Regions from separate parts of the Homo sapiens genome. Here regions 1, 2, 3, 4, 5 and 7 are each linked to region 6. Evidence: promoter capture Hi-C in 16 types of primary human blood cells and fetal thymus (Javierre and others, 2016). All regions are on one chromosome and are shown on one strand. Each heading gives the region's core, a stretch centred on a gene start or on the middle of the fragment in contact. The rest is flanking DNA. Distances are from core to core; before and after follow the strand shown. Region 1 overlaps IGSF3 (immunoglobulin superfamily member 3). Region 2 overlaps ZNF697 (zinc finger protein 697). Region 3 overlaps CD58 (CD58 molecule). Region 4 overlaps WARS2-AS1 (WARS2 antisense RNA 1). Region 5 has its middle 6.0 kb from the start of ATP1A1. Region 6 holds the start of GDAP2 (ganglioside induced differentiation associated protein 2). Region 7 overlaps WARS2 (tryptophanyl tRNA synthetase 2, mitochondrial).

Region 1 (2,700 bases), core at 120-2,619, 1.3 Mb after region 6:
ACTATTAATAATTTGGTGTATATTTTTTGGTCTTTGCCTCATGTCTTCATATTTCCTCTGTCTGTAAACAAACTCAGGATCTTACTGTTTTATGTGATCTTTTTTCCCACTCAACTTTCTTTTATGAGCGTTTTCCCATGTCTGTGAAAGCATTTCATAGCCACCATTTTTACTGGTTTCATAACATTCATTGTGCAGACGTACTTCAAAGATTTTTTTCGGAGGGATACGTTAAACACATGGAAGACTTGAAATAATATAGCTCTAAAAGTATTGTTAGGAAAATAATCACCTTCCACTGCTGAGAGTTGACATTCACAATAATCTGAAATACATGGAATGAAGGGCTCCCATCCTCACTAAGATTGCAGATGAGTCGATTAGTAGTTGTGTTGGGCTCACACAACTGGGGAAGGGAGAAAACCACAATCATCACACACAGGCCAGGAATTGGCGGTCACAGTGAGATCCAGGGGAGCTGTTAGTGTCACGCAGACAGCAGGGGCAGAGGTCGGCATCTTTCCATGGCTTATACTTGGAAAAGAAGAGAGTATTTAAGTCCAAACAGGGAGGAGGGTTGGCATATTCTAGAAGGGGGCAGATTCAGGGAACTAAATTGGTAGAGAAACATGTTAAGGGGAGAGAGATTGTGGGAAGGTGGAAATTAATTTCTGTCGAAAAACTTGTATTGAGTCATTTATGCAGACAAGGCATTTGAAGGGGCCAAGAAAAATGTTAAGCGGTTAGAAGACAAGAAAGCAAAGGGAGATTGAAGAGGGAGGAGGTGTTTCTGAGGAGCTCAACTGATGGTCTCTGGCCATCTTGCCCCTGGCCATGATAAGTTCCACTGCACATCGCCCAGGGCCACCTCCCTTGACACCTTAGCCAGTCACCAGGAGCGTGGGGATACTATGTTAGACTCTGGAGGAGAAAAGCATGGGGTGGGGGGCTCCCCTTGGTCTCTAGTAGGGCTCTCTAATGGCCTTGGAGTTACAACTGAGGAGTTGAGTGAGTTTGAGTTACCTGTGAACTGATTGAATAGTCCCCACCCGGCCATATTCTGTTCTCAAGCATGTTCTTGTCCCTGAGAGAGCTGGGCCTGCCACCTGTAGCTGGTTACTGAGCCCTCCTGTGCCAGCAGTGCACACTGAGATTCCAGATGGGTGCAGGAGGTGGGTGCAGAGGGGCTTGGCAGAGCCCCCACAAGAGCAATGGGAAGCCCAGCCTTGTGTTAACCTGTGAGCGACATGTTCACCTGTGAGCGACACTAAGCCAATTCATTGAAAGCCCAGGACAATACTTGGAAAGTGCTCCTATTTGGTCTTCATCCAAGTAGGATCTGATTTGGTATCTCTACTTCAGTTTACATTACATTGGCACCTTTCATGAACATTTCATAAGCAGAGCCAAAGGGAGGCCTTTTAGGAGTTAGGGAGTGAATTATTTGTTTAGAACATATTACAGTGAGCCAAAAAAAAAAAAAAAAAAAAAAAAAGACAGCAAAACAGATTCAAGTCTGTTGGCATCTGTGAGATGTGACTCACCTGCTTGGGGTCCCTCTCTGTGGTTACTCTGTGTCTCCCGCCTAAGCAGGGAGGACACTTTGCGTACATCCTCCTGAGACATCTGTGCTCACAGGGAAGGGCCCTTTCAGCCTTGTCGTCTGTTATCTGGCTTTAATCCTTGGAGAGATACTGATCTCCTTGGGTTCTCTGTGTTTTAGGCAATAAGCTACATGCACACAGTTTAAATTTAAGTTACTGCATGGGTGTTTTAAATTCCCAGGGCTACCATAACAAATTAGTATAAACTTGATTGTTTAAAACAAAAGAAATTTATTCTCTTACAGTTCTGCAGGCCAGAAGTCCAAAGTCAGGATGTCATCATAGCCATGCTCCCCATGAAGGCTCTAGGGAAGAATGCTTCCTGGCCTTTGCCAGTTCCTTGTGGCCACAGACATTCCCTGGTTGTGGCTGCTTCACTCCTGTTTGGGCCTCCATCATCATATGGCCACTTTCTCTCTGTCTTCTCTCCTGTGCTCATAAGGACACTAGTTATCTTAGTCTGCTCAGTTGCCATAACAAAATACTATAGACTGGGTGGCTTAAACAACATAAATGTATTTTCCTACAGTCCTAGAGGCTGGAAGTCTGAGGTCAGGGCACCAGCATGGCTAAGTTCTGGTAAGAGCTCTTCTGGCCCGCAGACGGCGCCTTCTTGCTGTGTCCTTGAATAGTCTTTCCTCGGTGCATGCACCTGGAGAGAGATCTCTCTTCTTCTTCTTATAAGACACCAATCTTACTGGATTAGGGTCTCACTCAGCCTTATGACCTCATTTAACTTTAATTACCTCCTAAAAGTCCTACCTCCAAATGTAGTCACATCGTGGGTTATGAATTCAGCATATTAATTTGGAGGGGGACCAATTCAGTTCATAGCACCAGCCACTGGATTTAGGGCCCACCCCAATCCAGCAAGACCTCCTCTTTGCTAATTACGTCTGCAAAGTTGCTATTTCCAAATAATCACATTCTGAGGTTCCAGGTGGACATGCATTTTGGAGGGACACTATTCAGCCACTACAAGGGGTTACAGTGAAAATAAACACCTCTTCCCCCCGGGATTCCCATAAGGAACCACACTACCAGCTTCTTATGAATTCTTCCACAGATATTTTATGCAGATATAAACAGATATGTA
Region 2 (2,700 bases), core at 150-2,649, 1.7 Mb before region 6:
GTTTGCCTTTTACAGATTGTCATATGGTTGGAATCATACAGTATGTGACCTTTTCATATTGGCTTCTATCATTTAGTAGTATACGTTTTAAGGTTTCTCCATGTTTTTTCACGCCTTGATAGCTAATTTGATGTTGTCGTGTTTTGGATTTTGGCCATTCTAATGAGCGAGTAGTGGCATCTTGTTTTAACTTGAAATTCTCAAATGACATTGATGTTTGTATTAGTTCATTCTCATGCTGCTATGAAGAAATACCCAAAACAGGTAATTTATAAGGAAAAGAGGTTTAATTGACTCACAGTTCTGCATGGCTGGGGAGGCCTTGGGAAACTTACAATCATGGCAGAAGGTGAAGCAAACATGTCCTTCTTCACATGGCAGCAGAAGAGAGAAGTGCCGAGCAAAGGGGGAAAAGCTCCTTATAAAACCATCAGATCTTCTGAGAACTCTCACTATCATGAGAACAGCCTGAGGGTAACTGCCCCCATGATTCAATTACCTCCCATCTGGTCCCTTCCATGACACGAGGGGATTACGGGAACTACAATTCAAGATGAGATTTGGGTGGGGACGCAGCCAAACCGTATCAGTGTTAAAAATCTTTTCATGTGCCTATTTGCCATCTGCATATTTTCTTTGGTGAGGTGTCTGTTCAGATCTTTTGCCCATTTTTAATTGGGTTTTAAGAGTTCTTTCTATATCTTGGTTAACAGCCTTTTATCATATATATTTTTTTGCAAACATTTTCTCCCCACCTGTGACTCTTTTTCTTGTTATTTTTTTTAGTATATGAGCTTTCCCCATCTTTTCCTTTTTTAGGGGGGGATGTGTGCCAGATTTAATTTAATATAAAACTAGTTTACTCCAGAACTGAGAAACCAAAATGTGAAATTAACTGGAAGACACACTCCCCTTTTACCACCCCCCTTATAACAATAAGCATCAGTTGAATTTAACCAGACTGCAGCCACAGCCTACACTAGTCTGGGGGGCAGTTGCCACAGGACATCTTTTGTTTCTGTTTCTCTACTTCCTAATATGTGCTTGTGTTTATTGATTGAATAGGTGGTGTGGTAAGTATTCCTGGTCAACACTTCCTGTATGGCATGTAATCTTTACTAACTTTCTTAAGAGCCTTCATTTGTTTCCCAGCCTAATTCTGGACCTTTAGGGAAAGGGTTTTCTAGGCTGATGATTCTATGTAGGTGAGAAGAGAAATCAAGAAATCCATGCCTTTCTTGTTGTAGTAAGAAAAACAAAACAAAACATGAAACTCTTGAAAACTGCCAGAGAATAAAACTTTAGTCTGAATAGCCACTCTTAATGTTAAATGCAAATCTCCCCGGTATTTGAATGCACTCCCTGCCCTGCCTTACCCAGCAACTTCTTTAGTCTCATAATTACTTTGAAGATTAAATGTTGGTCTTTCTTCATTCGTCATTTAATTTCTGTGACTGCTAGTCCCAATTTTCCTTGGGTGGGAGAGAAGTAGTTGTCCTGTCATAGTGGGACAGTCTGGTAGCATTCCCCACAATGAACATAAACAGCACTGTGCCACCTCTGTTTGCACAGCTGAATCAAGGGTTAAACCCTTGGAGTGGAGGGAGGACCCACACAGGGGCATTTGATACAAACAAAGCATGCTGGCATTTGGGCCAAGAGATGTAGAATTCTTTTTTGAGAATGGTCTGCCTAACTTTTGAGGCTAATTGCCATTTCCTGTCATGGCTACCTATTTAGCAGGGTAATTAAGCATGTTTGGCTCCTGGTGCTAACAGGTTATTGGATCCAGTTGGGAGAGTTAGGTTGTCTCTATGACTCTACCTTACCTGATGTGATTTTGCCAAATCACTAGATTTCCTAGTCTTTTTAGGTCTTCCTTTTGAGACCGAGGGGAAGAAATAATTACTCCTGATTTTATCCATTTCAAGAACTATTTGAAGGTCCATTGTGTGAGGGAATTATCAAAGTGAATAAAATGTTTGTTCCCATAAGGAACTTACAGTTGGGAGGTGGTAGGAGAAAAAGGAGAGCCAAAAATAAGATATGAATTATTGTAAGTATGATTCTATTTAAAAAACTAATATTAGGCAGAATAAGAAAAAGTATCTTAAGTCATACAAAGTGAAAAAATAATAATAATTCTATCTGAGCACTTACTATCCCTATAAGGTAGGTTCAGTTGTTCTCTCCATTTTATAGATGAAGAAAACTAAGGCCAAAAGAGGTTGAACAATTTGCTTAAGGCTAACAGCTAGACTGGATTCACACAGGTCGTATGGCTCCAGAATCTTGTTTGGTTTTTGGTTTTTTTGAGACAGGATCTTGCTCTGTCACCCAGGCTGAAGTCCAGTGGTGTGAATACCTTCTGGGCACAAGCAATCCTCCCACCTCAGCCCTCCAAGTGGCTGGGATTACATGTGTATGCCACCACTTCTGGCTTTTTTTTTTTTTTTTGGAGAGACAGGGTTTTGCCCTGCTGCCCAGGCTGATCTTGCACTCCCGAGCTTAAGCGATCCACTGGCTTTGGCCCCCAAAAGTGCTGGGATTACAGGCGTGAGCCACTATGCCTGGCCAGAATCTGAGCTTTTAACCATTACAGGTGCTGCTGCCTCCGGAAAAGGACAGACTGTAACCCATGCTTTGAGGACGAAAAGCATCTCAGGAAGGGAAAACAGGGTGCCTTCTGGGGAATTTAAA
Region 3 (2,700 bases), core at 88-2,587, 1.4 Mb after region 6:
TGTGATAGTGAATAAGTCTCACAAGATCTGATGGTTTCATAAAGGGGAGTTCCCCTGCACACGCTCTCTCTTGCCTGCCACCATTAAGACATGACTTTGCTTCTCCTTTGCCTTCTGCCATGATTGTGAGGTTTCCCTGGCCATGTGGAACTGTGAGTCCATTGAGCCTCTTTCCTTGATAAATTACCCAGTCTCATGTATGTCATTATTAGCAGTGCGAGAATGGACTAATACACCCCATCTCTACAAAAAGTTAGCCAGGTGTGGTGGTGCACGCCTGTAGTCCCAGCTACTCAGGAGGCTGAGATGAGCCTGGCAATTGCTTGAGTCTGGGAATTTGAGGCTGCAGTGAGCCATGATGACACAACTGCATTCCAGCCTGGGTAACAGAGCAAAAAAATAAAAAATAAAAAGGTAGGAACTATTTTATTATTAACAGAGTCTGTCTTATTCTGCTGTTGTTGACATTTTACAGATCCTTTATTGCCAACTATCTGCATAACTAGATTTTAAGTTCCTTGTATGCAGAAGTCATGTATTATTTTTTAAAATTTTCCTTATATTGATCTGTTTTTTTTTAATAGTAAAGATTGTTGAATCTGAACATTAGATGACAATGTATTTGTCCAGCATTTCTCCATTTGAAATTATCTCACATTATTATGTGAGACTTGTTCATGTGCTTTGCTGGAGTTGAGACTTAGACAGTCTGTGTTTTTTTATTTAGCAAAGATAATCCAAGTTAAAATAGTGTTGTGTGTTCCTATAGGAAAACTAGGCCCAGTGTTATAACAGAGTGTAAGTAATAATAGCCACTAGGAGGTAAGTACCTGCTCTGTGCCAGGAGCTATGCTTCAGATTTGAGATGTTTTTATTTAATTGTCACACTGATTTTATTACATAGGGAACATTTAATAGGAGAACAAAGCTTAGGTAGGTTCAGTAATGTGTCCAAGTTCACACAGCAAATAAGTGGCAGAGTGAACTTGAACTTTGATTCTCTCTGAATCAGAACCTATTCCTTTATATGCTCTGTTGTATCCCTAGCCTGAGATCCACTAAGCAACTTTTTGAAGATGAGTACTACTGATTTCTTATATCCAACATGTATACATTGTCCAATGAAATTCTGCTAAAACATGGGAAATATAGGTCAGCACAATTACCAGTCATGCAAAATTGTATTTAATATCATAATTTGTAATGGTGAGGGGTGCTTCTTTGGGACATAGAATTTACAATGGCAATTTATTGACATATTTATTATTAACATTATTATATTTACATTCTCTAGGTACCCACATTTCACTCCTAGACACTTTTGCATAATCTCAATAACATCATAACATCTATAAATATTAACACTAATCCTGTAACATCACCTAACTTTTACCCGTATTCAGATTTCCCCACTTGTCACAAGAGTGTCTTTTGTTAAAAAACCCGGATCTAATCAAGTTTCACTCATTGTATTCGTTGCTATGTTTTTTTGTTTTAATTTTGATGGGCATCTTTCAGAAGTTTTAAAATAGTCTTAGAACCTCTTTTTAAGAACCAGATTTGAATAATTTATTTTATTGACCTCCTTGTCACTCTAACATTTCTTTAGTAAATACAGGCTTTGAGGGTAGGTATTGGTTTCTCTGTTTAAAAGTAGAAACTTTGCATAAATCAGCCCTTATATGTGTAAGTTTTCTGCCTTTTGGTTTCTTCTCATGCTGTTTCTGCACAAGTGCCTAAGCTTTTTTGAAGCTTTACTTGAGGGGTGACCAGAAGGTTTTACTTAAGGACACAGACCCTTAAATTCTGCAATGACAAATCTCAACTTCCATCTCAGGGTTGTAAGTGAAACCAGGATGCAGCCGTTTCTCTTTTCTCAGATAAGTTCAGGTTTGAATATAAAGTGTGACTATAAGATACAGAGACTGTCCCTAGAAAAGGAGGGGAAAACATTTTAGCAGTTCCTCTTTGGAGATAACTTTCAGTGCCTGCCCATCAGCCTCCAAGGAAAATGCTTTTTGGTTACTTTATAGGTTCTAGTGAACTTTGCTTACTTTACAATGTTCCCCAAAATGTCTGTTGAGATTAGTGCCTGAATTTCCACTGGGCTGACCAGTCTGTAGTTTCTTGAACATTTTCTTCCTATGCCAGTTAAAAATTAGAAGAAAATTGAAGTTTAACATACACATTCAGAAAAAAATAAAAAATCAGATTAATAAGAAACTAATGAGGCTGTGCCATTGTAAACTACTTGCAATAGAGTTTCCCAACGATGAACTGAGTATCTAGAAAATAACAAGGATTCTCAAGGAATTTTAGTGAAATGATCAGTACTGTATTGAAATACCTTGAATCAGACTTTGGAGAATAGATTTAAAAACACTCACAGCCTTAACCGATCTAGTAAGAACCTTATTCCCTAAAGCATACTGTGGATCTCAGCTGTATCCTATCTAAGGTGAGAACAGTCAAAGACAAATGTGGCCTTTGAGAAAGGTGGGATGTGAGTGTCTTGAAACAACAGGCTAAAGAAGTGCTCTCAAATAGAAGTATAATATGGAACATGTGAAATTAATTTTAATAATATATTTTAGTTAACCTAATATATCCATAATATTTTCATTTCGACATGTATTAGGTTGGTGCAAAAGTTATTGTGGTTTTTGCTATTTTTTTTTAATGGCAAAAACCGGCAATTAC
Region 4 (2,700 bases), core at 124-2,623, 1.2 Mb before region 6:
GAAAAAACCAATCACCGCATGTTCTCACTCATAGGTGGGAATTGAACAATGAGAACACATGGACACAGGAAGGGGAACATCACACACTGGGGACGGTTGTGGGGTGGGGGGAGGGGGGAGGGATAGCATTAGGAGAGATACCTAATGCTAAATGACGAGTTAATGGGTGCAGCACACCAACATGGCACATGTATACATATGTAACAAACCTGCACGTTGTGCACATGTAACCTAAAACTTAAAGTATTAAAAAAAAAAAAAATTAGCCGGGTGTGGTGGGCGCCTGTAATCCCAGCTACTTGAGAGGCTGAAGCAGGAGAATCGCTTGAACCCGGAAGATGGACGCTGCAGTGAGCCAAGATCAGTCCACTGCACTCCAGCCTGGGCAGCAGAGCAAGACTCCATCTCAAAGAAAACAAAAACAAAAACAAAAACAAATGTATTAGCTTACGATTCTTGGGGTAAGAAGTCCTGAAATCAAGGTGGAGGCAGGGCTGTGTTCCATCTGGAGGCTTTAGGGGAGAATCCAGGCTTTTCTTTTCTACCTGCATTCCTTGACTCTGGGTCCTCTTCCATCTTCCAACCTCTGTTTCCATCATCACATTTCCTTCTTAGACTGACTCTCCTGCTCCCCTGTTAGAAAAACCTCTATGATTACATTGGACTAAACAGAATAAACCAGGATAATATTCTCATCTCAAGATTCTTAATCACATCTGCAAAGTTCCTTCTGCCATATAGCCATCTTCAGGGCCCATCATTCTATCTACCTTTGGGGCAGAGAAACAGAAAATCTGTGCACATACTGGTCCACCCTCTCCTAAAGAGCAGTGTGACTTCATTTGCATTCTCTTTGATCTTAGTTTCCTTACTTGTAAATAAGAAAATGCATTTAACAAATATGTTACTAGACATGCACATTCTGAACTTTGAGGATGCATAATAAAGCAGACAAAAGGCTATGCTCCCATGCTGCTTATGTTCTAGAGGCGGAGAAAATAAAGTAAAATGTTTTAGGTGGTAACTGGTGAGCATTGGTGAGGAGACCAGCATGTCTGGAGTAAAGCAAAGCAGGGGGAAGTTAATGGGGAAAGGGCCAGAAAGAGAGGTTGGGATGGGGGATGCAGGTCACTTAGGTCTTATAGGTTTTGAGAACTTTGGATTTTTTCCAAATGACATGGAAAGTCACTGGAGGGTTTTGGGCAGAGTAGTGACCATGAGCTGACATACATTTTAATAGGTCACTCTGATGGCTGATTGAAAATACACGTAAGCGGGTGAAGGAGGAAGCAGGGAGATGTGTCGGTACCTTATTCTCTTTACTCTCACCTTTCTTTATGCTCTATTCATTTGCATATCCTTGCTTTCTTCATGCAGTTCTCTCTCCTAAGGGCACCCTGCTCCTCTTTCCAATTCAAAATTCTATACAGACACTCCTTCAAGATTGAGCTCAGTACTCATCTTAGAGCAGTAAGGAAACTTTGGGAGCTTATTCTTTGCCCCCATTTTCAGATGAGGACACTGAGGTCCAGAACTCTTAGGAAGCCTGTCCAAGGTTATACGAACAGCAAGCAGTGAGGCTAGGATTGCTGACAAAGTGTGATTCTAAGGAAATCACAAGGGCTTCCTGATACAAAGATGTTTCTCTTGAATTTTCTTCTTCTTTTTTTTTTTTTTTGACAAACCCACAGCCAACATCTTATGTCTTGAAATTCTGTTTGTTGTTTGCCTTCTCCTTCATTAAACGGAGATCTTGACGAGCACAGATGGTATCCTATTCAGCTCTGTGCATTTAGTACAGTGCCTGGCACAAAAGACACCCAATAAGTATTTGCTAGGTGAGTAAATAATGGAATGTCAAGCTCTTGAAAATCTGTGTGTGTGTGTTACTAGTCTCATGTCTTCCCCAAGTTCACCATCTCATGGTGTTAAATGTCAGTTGGACAGGTCTAAAAACTTTTTTTTTTGAGACGGAGTCTCGATCTGTCTCCCAGGCTGGAGTGCAGTGGCACGATCTCGGCTCACTGCAACCTCCACCTCCTGGGTTCACACCATTCTCCTGCCTCAGCCTCCCGAGTAGCTGGGACTACAGGTGCCTGCCACCATGCCCGGCTAATTTTTGTTATTTTTAATAGAGTCAGGGTTTCACCATGTTAGCCAGGATGGTCTCGATCTCCTGACCTCGTGATCCGCCTGCCTTGGCCTCCCAAAGTGTTGGGATTACAGGCGTGAGCCACCGCGTCCGGCCACCAAGGACAGGTCTAAAAACTTATGAGCTGAGTGTTCTAGAAAAGGAGACCTTATTATTGTCTTAAAAAAAAAAAGGAGTGGCAACAGGATTAGAGTGGGGATCTTCCCAACACAGTAAAGATCAGAGCTAGAGACCCTCTTCTTTTCCTTCCCTCCTTAATTCTCAAGCAGTCTGGGATAAGAGGGATGAACTAAGTTCTAAACGAATGTCACTCTTTGAGGAGAAACCACAGCCCTGTGTCCTGTGACCTTCTGTGCACTAGGCATGGTAGTCTTGTTTTTACTGAGGTGATAACTAGCCGTGACAACGTAAGTGGTAAGTGTACCCCCGCCTCTTACTCCTGTGGTGGGGTTGTGCATGCAGACCAGGAGAAAGGCCCCAAGAAGTATGTCCCTGTTTTCACTGTCAGTGGTTGTGTGGACTCATACTGAATTATCTAGTGGCTAATA
Region 5 (2,700 bases), core at 111-2,610, 1.6 Mb after region 6:
TATTCCACTGCCAGAGTCCCATCTTCATCCAACCAGCAGAGACACAGCTTCAGGCAGCCTTACAGCTCAGAAAGGGCAAGCCCAAAGCTGGGAAGAGGTGGCGGGAGGTAACTGGCATCTAACCCTTCCTGCTCTCCAGGGGGCACAACCACAAGCACTAAGGAAATAAGTGCCATCATCGTGGTGGATAGATTTGCTATTCTTGGCCTTAAACTCTTCCATGGAAAAACAATTGAGAGAGTTCTTTGGAAGTTGGTCCTACTGGGAATAATACTCTTCCATAGATGCCTTTGCATTAAAGCTGGGTTTCAGAGACTGTGCAGATTTTTGTTTCAGTAAAAAGCTACCTTAAGAGGAGAGAATACAAAACCATCAAAAAGTGGTTTGGTTCATTTATAAGAATGGAAGTTTTTGCAACAGCAGAAGTAACCAAAAAGTAGGTCAGGTGCAAAAATAGTAACCAGCTCAATTCATTTTTAACAGCTTATGTTTTACTCTGGAGGCTTCCATTTTGGCGATGGTGACCTCTACATGTGGACTCTTACAAATAAGCCCCTAAGAAGGGTTCCCCCTTTTTTCCCCCTCTTATAAAGAGCATACTCCAATCCTTAACTCTGGTAGTGTATAGTATTTAACAGAAGTAAGAACTAGTTCATGCAAAAAATCAGAATAAACATTATTGAATATCTACTCTGAGCCTAGCACAGTGCTTGTTGCTGTTGTATAAAGATAACTAAGACACATTCTCTACCCTCAAATAGCTCACCATCTGGCATAAAAAAAAGACATGCAAAGAGATATTAGTAACACAGTGAGAGGTGCTGCATATATGCAGGCCTTCATGGGGGCATGAAGGAGGAAGTGGCCAGCTCTGTCTGCAGAGTGGGAAAGGCTTCCCTGGCTGGGATTGTGAAAGATGGTTAGGAGTTCACGGAATGGCAGCATGTTAGGCAGGACCAGGAGGATGCAAGCAAAAGTAGCACATGGGTAAGGTCTTCAGGACAGAAACAAACTGAGTGTTGGAGGACTGGCCAGAAGATTAAAATGGCGAGAGCCTAGGTTGTGAGAGGAATGGCGGCAGGAAGTAAGCTTGGAGAGGTGAGCAGAGTCCAGATTGTGGAGGACTTGGATGCCATCAAAGGGCTTGGACTTTATCCTATGGGCCATAGGGAGACACTGTGGGGTTCTAAGCAGGGGCAGGGCATGATCAGATTTGTGCTTTGGAAAGATTTCTCCAGTAGATATGCCTTCATAGCCAGCACATTTATGAAAGCTTCTCTGATCACATTATTGAATTCAGAATCTCAAGATACCTATATCTCCTTGTATATTTTTGTCATAGTATGCTAATTTTATTTTCTTCCTTTTCTTGTGCACACACAGGCAGCATGCCTTAACTCCCATTACCATCCCTATTATCTACTACTTCTCTTGAACAGAAGCTTTTGAATTGCTGGATATGATGAAAAACTGGAATTAGGACATAATTTTAACAATTGGTCAACATACAACTCCCTAGCCCTCAGAAGATAGTTCAATTTGCGGGGATGGCTCAGGCATTTTATCTGATTTCCTAGTGTTTTTTGCTAAGGTGAATTCCAAATAGGCCAAGGACTTTGTTGGTTTCCAGTTCTCTCAGAGTCCAGTGCTTGATGCAACTCCACTGACTAAAGAAATGTTAAGCTGCCTGGTAAGCAATCTCACATTTGAAGACCGAAATTATAGAAGATAAAGAAAAGAAGGAAGAAACCAAGTTAATGAAAAATTTAGCTTCAATTGTCCAAATACTGAGGTGAGAGGGTCACTTGAGACCAATGATTCAAGACCAGCCTGAGTGATATAGTGGGACCTACCTCAAAAAAAAAAAAAAAAAAAAAAAAAAAAAAGTTGTCCAAATAGCTCAAGTTAAAGATGTCCCTGCCTAACACATCTCAGCTTTTTGCTTTTTTGACAAGTCCCTGTTAACATTTGACGTCTGGTCATGGACACAGTGTTAAGAGTTAACAGTGGAGACAGAGATGGTGGTGGTGGTAATGAAAGTGATGGTAGGAGGTAATGGGATGGTGGTGATGGAGGTGGTGGACCCAAAATAGCTGATCACATGACAGGATTCTAACCAAATACCTTCTTCAAACAATGTATGTAAGCATGAAGCTTTTTATCTAGAAAAACTATCTAACTTAGTAACTCTACCAGTGGGCTGCTATGAGAAACAATTGACATGATATACTTAAAGCACTAGAACATTGCCTGCCATGTAGTAACTGTTCAAAGAGGGTAAGCAATTATCTCGTCTTGATTCCAAATTCCTACTTAGCCTGGGAGATATAAGGTCCAAGGAAGAATGAAGGCAGCTACAAAATTTGTCTACAGGAGGAGAGAATGAGAACAGAATTTACTTTATGCTGGCTCACCTTTTCCCACGTCAATCTCCTTTATCCAACAAAGAACCAGTCTACTGAGACACAGCCAGCCAAGTGCACCCAGTTGGGTGGTAGAGGTCAGTCAGCACTCCACCTGTCTGAACTGGTCTGGTTATTACCAAACTTCAGGCGAGGACCAGGAAAATAAGTCCACTAAAACGTCAGAGCCGTAGCCCAGCTGATTGATTTTCACCTTCAGAATAAGAAGCCTGAATATCCAGGATCTAGACTGCACGGGCTTCCTCAGGAGAAAGAAAGCATTGTCTCTAAATGCAAT
Region 6 (2,700 bases), core at 119-2,618:
GTGACAGTGAGACTCTGTCTCTAAAAATAAATAAACAAATTCTCCACAATAACACCACAAGGGAAGTCACTCTTCCTATCTCTATTTTACAGACAAGGAACTCAGACCCAGAGATGGCAAATTGCTAACTCAAAGTCATTTAGCAGCTAATTGCCAAAGCCAGATCCCAATCCAGCCAGTCTAACTCCAAAATTTCTGCTTTTAACCACTATGCTAAACTGCTTCTCTTTGCCTCTTTCTCTTTAGTCAATTCCACCTGACTGTTACTCTGAAACAGGATCCCTTTCTCTCCAGCACTTTCAGTTCCAGCTCTTTATCACTGGATTACTGCACTGATTTTCCACCTAGCACCTCCGCCTCCATGTTTTTCACTCTTTTCATTTAAACGTCATAATACTACCGACTAATCTTTTCAAATGAGCTTTCCCTATCCTAAAGCCTTGAAAAGGCTAAATCGTTTGCCAGTTTCCAAAAACTCATCCTATCTAACCCCCGTATTTCTCGAATAAACCTTCCTGTCAGGCTGGCTAGTTTCCTTCCTCGTCCCGCGACCTTGTATTCTTCATATTATTCGTTTTACTTAGAATAACATCCATGTTCTCCTCTACTTCTTTTAACTAATATTATCTTCTGAGGCCCACTTCCTTTCGAGTAAGCCCAATTCTAGCAGCCTTTTTTCATCGCCTCGATATTTAAACTACCTCCCATACAACTTGCACTGTTCACTTTGTTCCACGTGCACAGCTTTCGCCTCCTTTCTGACAGTTCACGACCAAACCTTCTTCCGAGACCCCATGATCTCCGCTTCCTAACCTACAGCCCCCAAAACGATGTTTCCAAGATGCACTGAAGGCCTGGACCGTGGCAACAGACCTGCCACACATTCCTAAACGAGTCTTCGGTCAGGGGAGGGTGACGGAGGGTTCCACACACCGAACACACGGTCATATCATCCTCAGGCCAGCCCGTGCACACGCACGGTCAGGCAGCTCTGCTCAGCACCCGCAACCGCGCCGAGTAGCTGAGGGGCTTCCAAGTACTGCTGTGGGGACGCCCGTAGTTACCTGAGTTCCCCCAGCCCTAGCAACCGGCCTTTAACACGCCCGTCTCGGCTGCTGCTGACATCACGAACGCCTCAGCCAGAATCTGCAAAATCGGAGCCGCAGATAATGCTCTCCGCCCCAACCACGCACCTCCAGGACTCACCTCAGCCTCCACGAGGCTCCCAGCCGATTGGACCCGCCCACAAGACCTGCCCCTTCCGGGTCCGTTCCGGAAGCCTCTTCCGCCAGAGGTTCCCTTTGCCTTCTAGGAGGAAATGACGGAGAAAGCCGGGCGCTGATTGGTGAGCTCTGGCCAGGAGCGGAAGCCGGTGTTTCGCAGCCCAGAGCATTTGCAGCTGGTCACTCCAGTCTCCTGGGACTTTGACTCGCCGTACTCGGCGCGCTCCTGCTGAGGGTCGCCGGAGATGTCGCTCGGCCGCCTTCTACCAGGAGCCTGATCCGTGCCGCCCGCCGCCCGGATGGGACCACCAGAGTGCTGTGAGAGGAGGGACTGAGGCCGGGAGGGAAGGCGGGGCGGAGAGGGCCGGGGGCGCGGTCCGAGGCGCTCGGGACTCGGCCCTGGTCAGGATTGCAGGCTGAGGGTTAGTTCTGTCACTTCTCTTGAAGAACGAGCCTGGCGCCACTTCCTCGCATGTTGGTTAGGTTCTTTCCCGAGGCGTTGTCGGGGACGCCGTCTCTACGAGAAGTGAAAGGGTGGGCAGTCGGCGGGCACTAGGAACAGTGGTGCTGTAGCCAAGGAGGCGGGCGCCCTAGGGTGCAGGTGAAATGGGGCAGGCGGGAGCTCTTGCTGGTTGTAGTCCCAAAGACAAGTCCGTGTTGCCGTTCCTGTGGACTGGACATTCTACGGAACCGAGAGCACCTCGGGTGAGGGGTGGGTAGACGCTGAGCCCAGGATGGTGCGTTGTCTAGGTTCCCGCAATCCCTGGAGTGACACTGGCCTGGCTTTGTGTTTCCGCTCTCTGGCCGCTTGAGGGGGAAGTGACCAAGGCTGACTCCTCCTTGTTTGCTCACTGAGACTTAAGTGCTCTTTCACCAAGTGGGAATTAGCTTTTCTCTCTTGCATTTCTGCTACTTTTATTCTTGAGCTGCATAGAAGTGTTTAGAAATGAGTTCTGATGTCTAGAGCTGTGCAAAATTAAAGCTAACATAGCTGTACAAAAGAAGATCCTGCCGGCGCTTCTTGAACAAGGTATCTGCAGCCAGCCTAGAAATTAGACTTTTGTCTACATTATCTGATTTTCTTTAGAGTTTCCTGAGCTTAATGCATGTTCAGCTAATCTTCCATATTCAAGAAAATTGCAATAGCAAAGAATGCGTATGATGAGACTGTGGACAGCTGTAGCAGCATAGGAGTTTTGAAACAAGATTGCTGTGTATTGGATAAATGAGAAGGGAAGAAATTGTGGCCACAAACTATTATTTTAATAAGCTTGGTGGGAAAGGGAGCATTTGAGTGGGTATGTATGGTTAATATCCCTGACAGGTGCTGTGCATTATATTATTATGGGGAGAAGTGTGTGCTTCAATGGAAAACTACATAGTTTAGATTCTATCTTAACACCCCTTGGAATAACTAATTCTAAAAAAGCTATTTTTCAGTTACGTAAACTAGGTAAGTGACATCAATGCTAAATAA
Region 7 (2,700 bases), core at 88-2,587, 1.2 Mb before region 6:
ACATTCTCATTTACTCTTGAATACAATATACAAAGTTCCTCTATTTAGCCATCAAAAATTTTTACTCGTTGATTAAACTTTTATTGTGCCTTCCCATTTTTTTTAACCAGTTTTGCAAGATGATGAATATAAAGTAAATATCAGTGTTCTTTCAAGTTTTACTTCAGTGACTGTTATCCTATTTGTACTAAAATTAGTTTAATGTTTAATTCATTTTTGGGCCCTGGTCTGATAGTACCATGATAATTTCAGTTATTACTAAACATGATGATAATGGAGGTGGTGGTGATAATAGCAAACATTCATTGGATGCTTACTATGTGCCAAGCATGGTTTTAAGTATTTGACATTCATTAACTCATTTAATCCTCATAACTCAATAAGGTAGGTGCTATTAGCCCTATTTTATAGATGACGATGTTGGGAGGTTAAATAACTAACCTAAGGTTACATAGCTAGCAAGTGTCAGAACCAAAATGTAAACCCAGCTAGCCTGATTCCAAACCCTGTGCACTAACTACAATGATGATAAATTCTGAAGCAAAGTACACATGTTAATTTGCTGATAACTGCCTTGTAACTTTTAAATCTGTTCTATGAAAGTCACTTATATATCTTGCCATGGTGACATGTAGAGTAGAAATTATAAATCATCCTTTGTTGTTGCTATTCTTACAGTCTTGTTTCGCTCAATGAATTATGAGGAAGAAGCAAAGCTGTCTTGTAAATTTATCTCCATGTCTCTATTTGGCTACTACCACTAGGATTACCTTGTATAAAATAAGGGCTTTTAACACATGAGTCCCAAGGTGCATGTAGGAAGTTCTGTTTATACACAGTCTATAGCTAAAAGGGCAACCTGCACAGAGCCCTGCAGGTAGAGGAGAGGTGGTGAGAGCTAAAGTTGATGGCTGACCAAGGGACCACTATCTAGGGTCTAGTTGGGATTTATGGCTAGAGTGCTTTCTTCAAGAAGTGGCAGAAGTACAGTCAGAAGGTGGGAAGTAAGAAAATAGTGTTGTGGGCCATTTCTGCAAGGGACAAGGAAGAATTTGATTCTGAAAGATTGTCCTTTGAAGGAGTTCTTAAAGAGGTCTATAATTCATTAATTATAGAGTATTAAGGTGAGTATATTAGTATATTAATTAGAATGGTGATGAGGCTTTAAAATTAGCAATATTGAACAGAATTCATTTTATACATCAAACAAAGGGCTTCTCATGAACTTTTTGTCACACTCCTCATGAACAGAGACTTTGCATGGAGTGTTCAACTTTATTATATGAATAAAGCCTACTCTTTATTCACCACGTTACTTTGGACCCCTTTTGGGAAGCAGGAGAATATAATAGTGAAGGGAAATGGAGCTGTTTACTCAAATCGCAGATTTGGATTCCTGTCCTCCCATGGGGAGAATGGTCTGAGCAGCCAGTTCATAAATTTGCTGGAAAAGAGAAGAGGCTTCTTGGGCTGAGGGTAAGTGTGCAGTGCGAAGTTGGAGTCCCAAGGGAGATGTAAAGGACCAGACTGTGTGGAACTCTTGCCAGTCCTGGGGAGAGAGTCAGATTGGCCCACCGACTGGCTACTAGCTACCTGGCAAACTTTGGCTTTTCCCATGGCTGGCAACCTTCCAGCTACTCCCATGCCACTAAGCTATGAGACATCCAGACTCAATAAGTTGACTGGCTCTTCATTAAGAGGAAGTGGGGGAAAGTAGACCATGCATGACTATTTGGATCAGCCAGGCCTGGCTCTACCACCACATTTTAAATGTGATTCCAGGCAGTTTTTTGACTTCACTAAACCTCAGTTGTCTCATGTGCAACATGTTAATAATACTCCTCACATTGTAAGAATTTTATGTAGATTTGAAATCCTACCATATATAAAGTTCCTTGGCCACTGCACAGCACCTGGTAGGTCCTCCCTGCTTGATGATGACTTCTTCAATAATATATAATTCTATCCAACAACCTTTCTCTCTTTTACTCTTATCACTCTTAGTAGGATTCTTTCCATTGCCATACTATTCTTCCCGCCCCCCACCACACCCCCTAGAATCAGTCTGACTTTGTTAATCTCCCAAAAGCAGAGCTCTAATTATGTTGTTCCCTTGCTGAGAAGCCTGTGGGGGCTTCTCATAAAGTCCAGACTTCCCACAGAACGTTTAAAACTTTGTACAGTCCGGGCCGGCGCTGTGGCTCACGCCTGTAATCCCAGCACTTTGGGAGGCCGAGGCGGGCAGATCACGAGGTCAGGAGATCAAGACCATCCTGGCTAACACGGTGAAACCTCATCTCTACTAAAAACAAACAAATTAGCCGGGCGTGGTGGCGGGCGCCTGCAGTCCCAGCTACTCGGGAGGCTGAGGCAGGAGAATGATGTGAACCCGGGAGGCGGAGCTTGCAGTGAGCCGAGATCGCGCCACTGCACTCCAGCCTGGGTGACACGAGTGAGACTACGTCTCAAAAAAAAAAAAAACAAAAAACAAAAAACTTTGCACAGTCCGGATCCAAAATACCTCTCTAGACCATTGCTATCTTACATAGATCCTTTGCCCTAGAGTTCACAAAATTTCCAAGTTTCCTCGGAGCTACTCCCTTTTACTTCCTTATTAATGCCATTACCTCTTCTTGGAAAGGCCTTTCTTCCTATCCTTATCTGTCTGTACTCTATCATTCTTTAAAAACAAAACAGAAA

What was found. The method cuts DNA at HindIII sites, captures the fragments that hold promoters and counts their contacts. A CHiCAGO score of 5 or more calls a contact.
Region 1: a fragment that was not itself captured here is called in contact with the fragment with the promoter of GDAP2 in region 6 in 1 of 17 cell types (neutrophils); the score reaches 10.4 in neutrophils.
Region 2: a contact is called between a fragment that was not itself captured here and the fragment with the promoter of GDAP2 in region 6, in 1 of 17 cell types (M0 macrophages). The highest score is 5.7, in M0 macrophages.
Region 3: a contact is called between a fragment that was not itself captured here and the fragment with the promoter of GDAP2 in region 6, in 1 of 17 cell types (total B cells). The highest score is 5.4, in total B cells.
Region 4: a contact is called between a fragment that was not itself captured here and the fragment with the promoter of GDAP2 in region 6, in 1 of 17 cell types (total B cells). The highest score is 5.2, in total B cells.
Region 5: a fragment that was not itself captured here is called in contact with the fragment with the promoter of GDAP2 in region 6 in 1 of 17 cell types (total B cells); the score reaches 5.3 in total B cells.
Region 7: a fragment that was not itself captured here is called in contact with the fragment with the promoter of GDAP2 in region 6 in 1 of 17 cell types (monocytes); the score reaches 5.4 in monocytes.

The regions. Positions count from the first base shown.
Region 1 is chr1:116,580,116-116,582,815 of GRCh38, reverse strand. The region is part of intron 9 of IGSF3 (immunoglobulin superfamily member 3); the gene reads left to right. Among named protein-coding and RNA genes, the nearest start is that of CD58, 10 kb to the right of the region's middle. The HindIII fragment of the contact is 6,350 bases long and covers 1-2,700 here.
Region 2 is chr1:119,639,473-119,642,172 of GRCh38, reverse strand. All of the region lies in intron 1 of ZNF697 (zinc finger protein 697), which reads left to right. Among named protein-coding and RNA genes, the nearest start is that of ZNF697, 7.4 kb to the left of the region's middle. The HindIII fragment of the contact is 7,617 bases long and covers 1-2,700 here.
Region 3 is chr1:116,560,043-116,562,742 of GRCh38, reverse strand. All of the region lies in intron 1 of CD58 (CD58 molecule), which reads left to right. LOC105378925 (a long non-coding RNA gene) reads right to left here. Exons shown (of 3, transcript XR_947739.2): 3 at 1,556-2,700. MIR548AC (microRNA 548ac) reads left to right here and starts at 2,632; the gene lies at 2,632-2,700. RefSeq lists an enhancer at 76-225. The HindIII fragment of the contact is 813 bases long and covers 931-1,743 here.
Region 4 is chr1:119,148,498-119,151,197 of GRCh38, reverse strand. WARS2-AS1 (WARS2 antisense RNA 1) reads right to left here. Exons shown (of 7, transcript NR_125975.1): 4 at 452-633. Among named protein-coding and RNA genes, the nearest start is that of WARS2, 9.2 kb to the right of the region's middle. The HindIII fragment of the contact is 7,646 bases long and covers 1-2,700 here.
Region 5 is chr1:116,365,893-116,368,592 of GRCh38, reverse strand. No RefSeq gene overlaps it. Among named protein-coding and RNA genes, the nearest start is that of ATP1A1, 6.0 kb to the left of the region's middle. The HindIII fragment of the contact is 169 bases long and covers 1,276-1,444 here.
Region 6 is chr1:117,928,289-117,930,988 of GRCh38, reverse strand. It overlaps GDAP2 (ganglioside induced differentiation associated protein 2), which reads left to right and starts at 1,368. Exons shown (of 14, transcript NM_017686.4): 1 at 1,368-1,541. WDR3 (WD repeat domain 3) reads right to left here and starts at 1,250. Exons shown (of 27, transcript NM_006784.3): 1 at 1,207-1,250. RefSeq lists enhancers at 1,098-1,267, 1,149-1,443. The HindIII fragment of the contact is 4,170 bases long and covers 1-2,495 here.
Region 7 is chr1:119,131,247-119,133,946 of GRCh38, reverse strand. The region is part of intron 1 of WARS2 (tryptophanyl tRNA synthetase 2, mitochondrial); the gene reads left to right. Among named protein-coding and RNA genes, the nearest start is that of WARS2-AS1, 7.8 kb to the left of the region's middle. The HindIII fragment of the contact is 5,540 bases long and covers 1-2,700 here.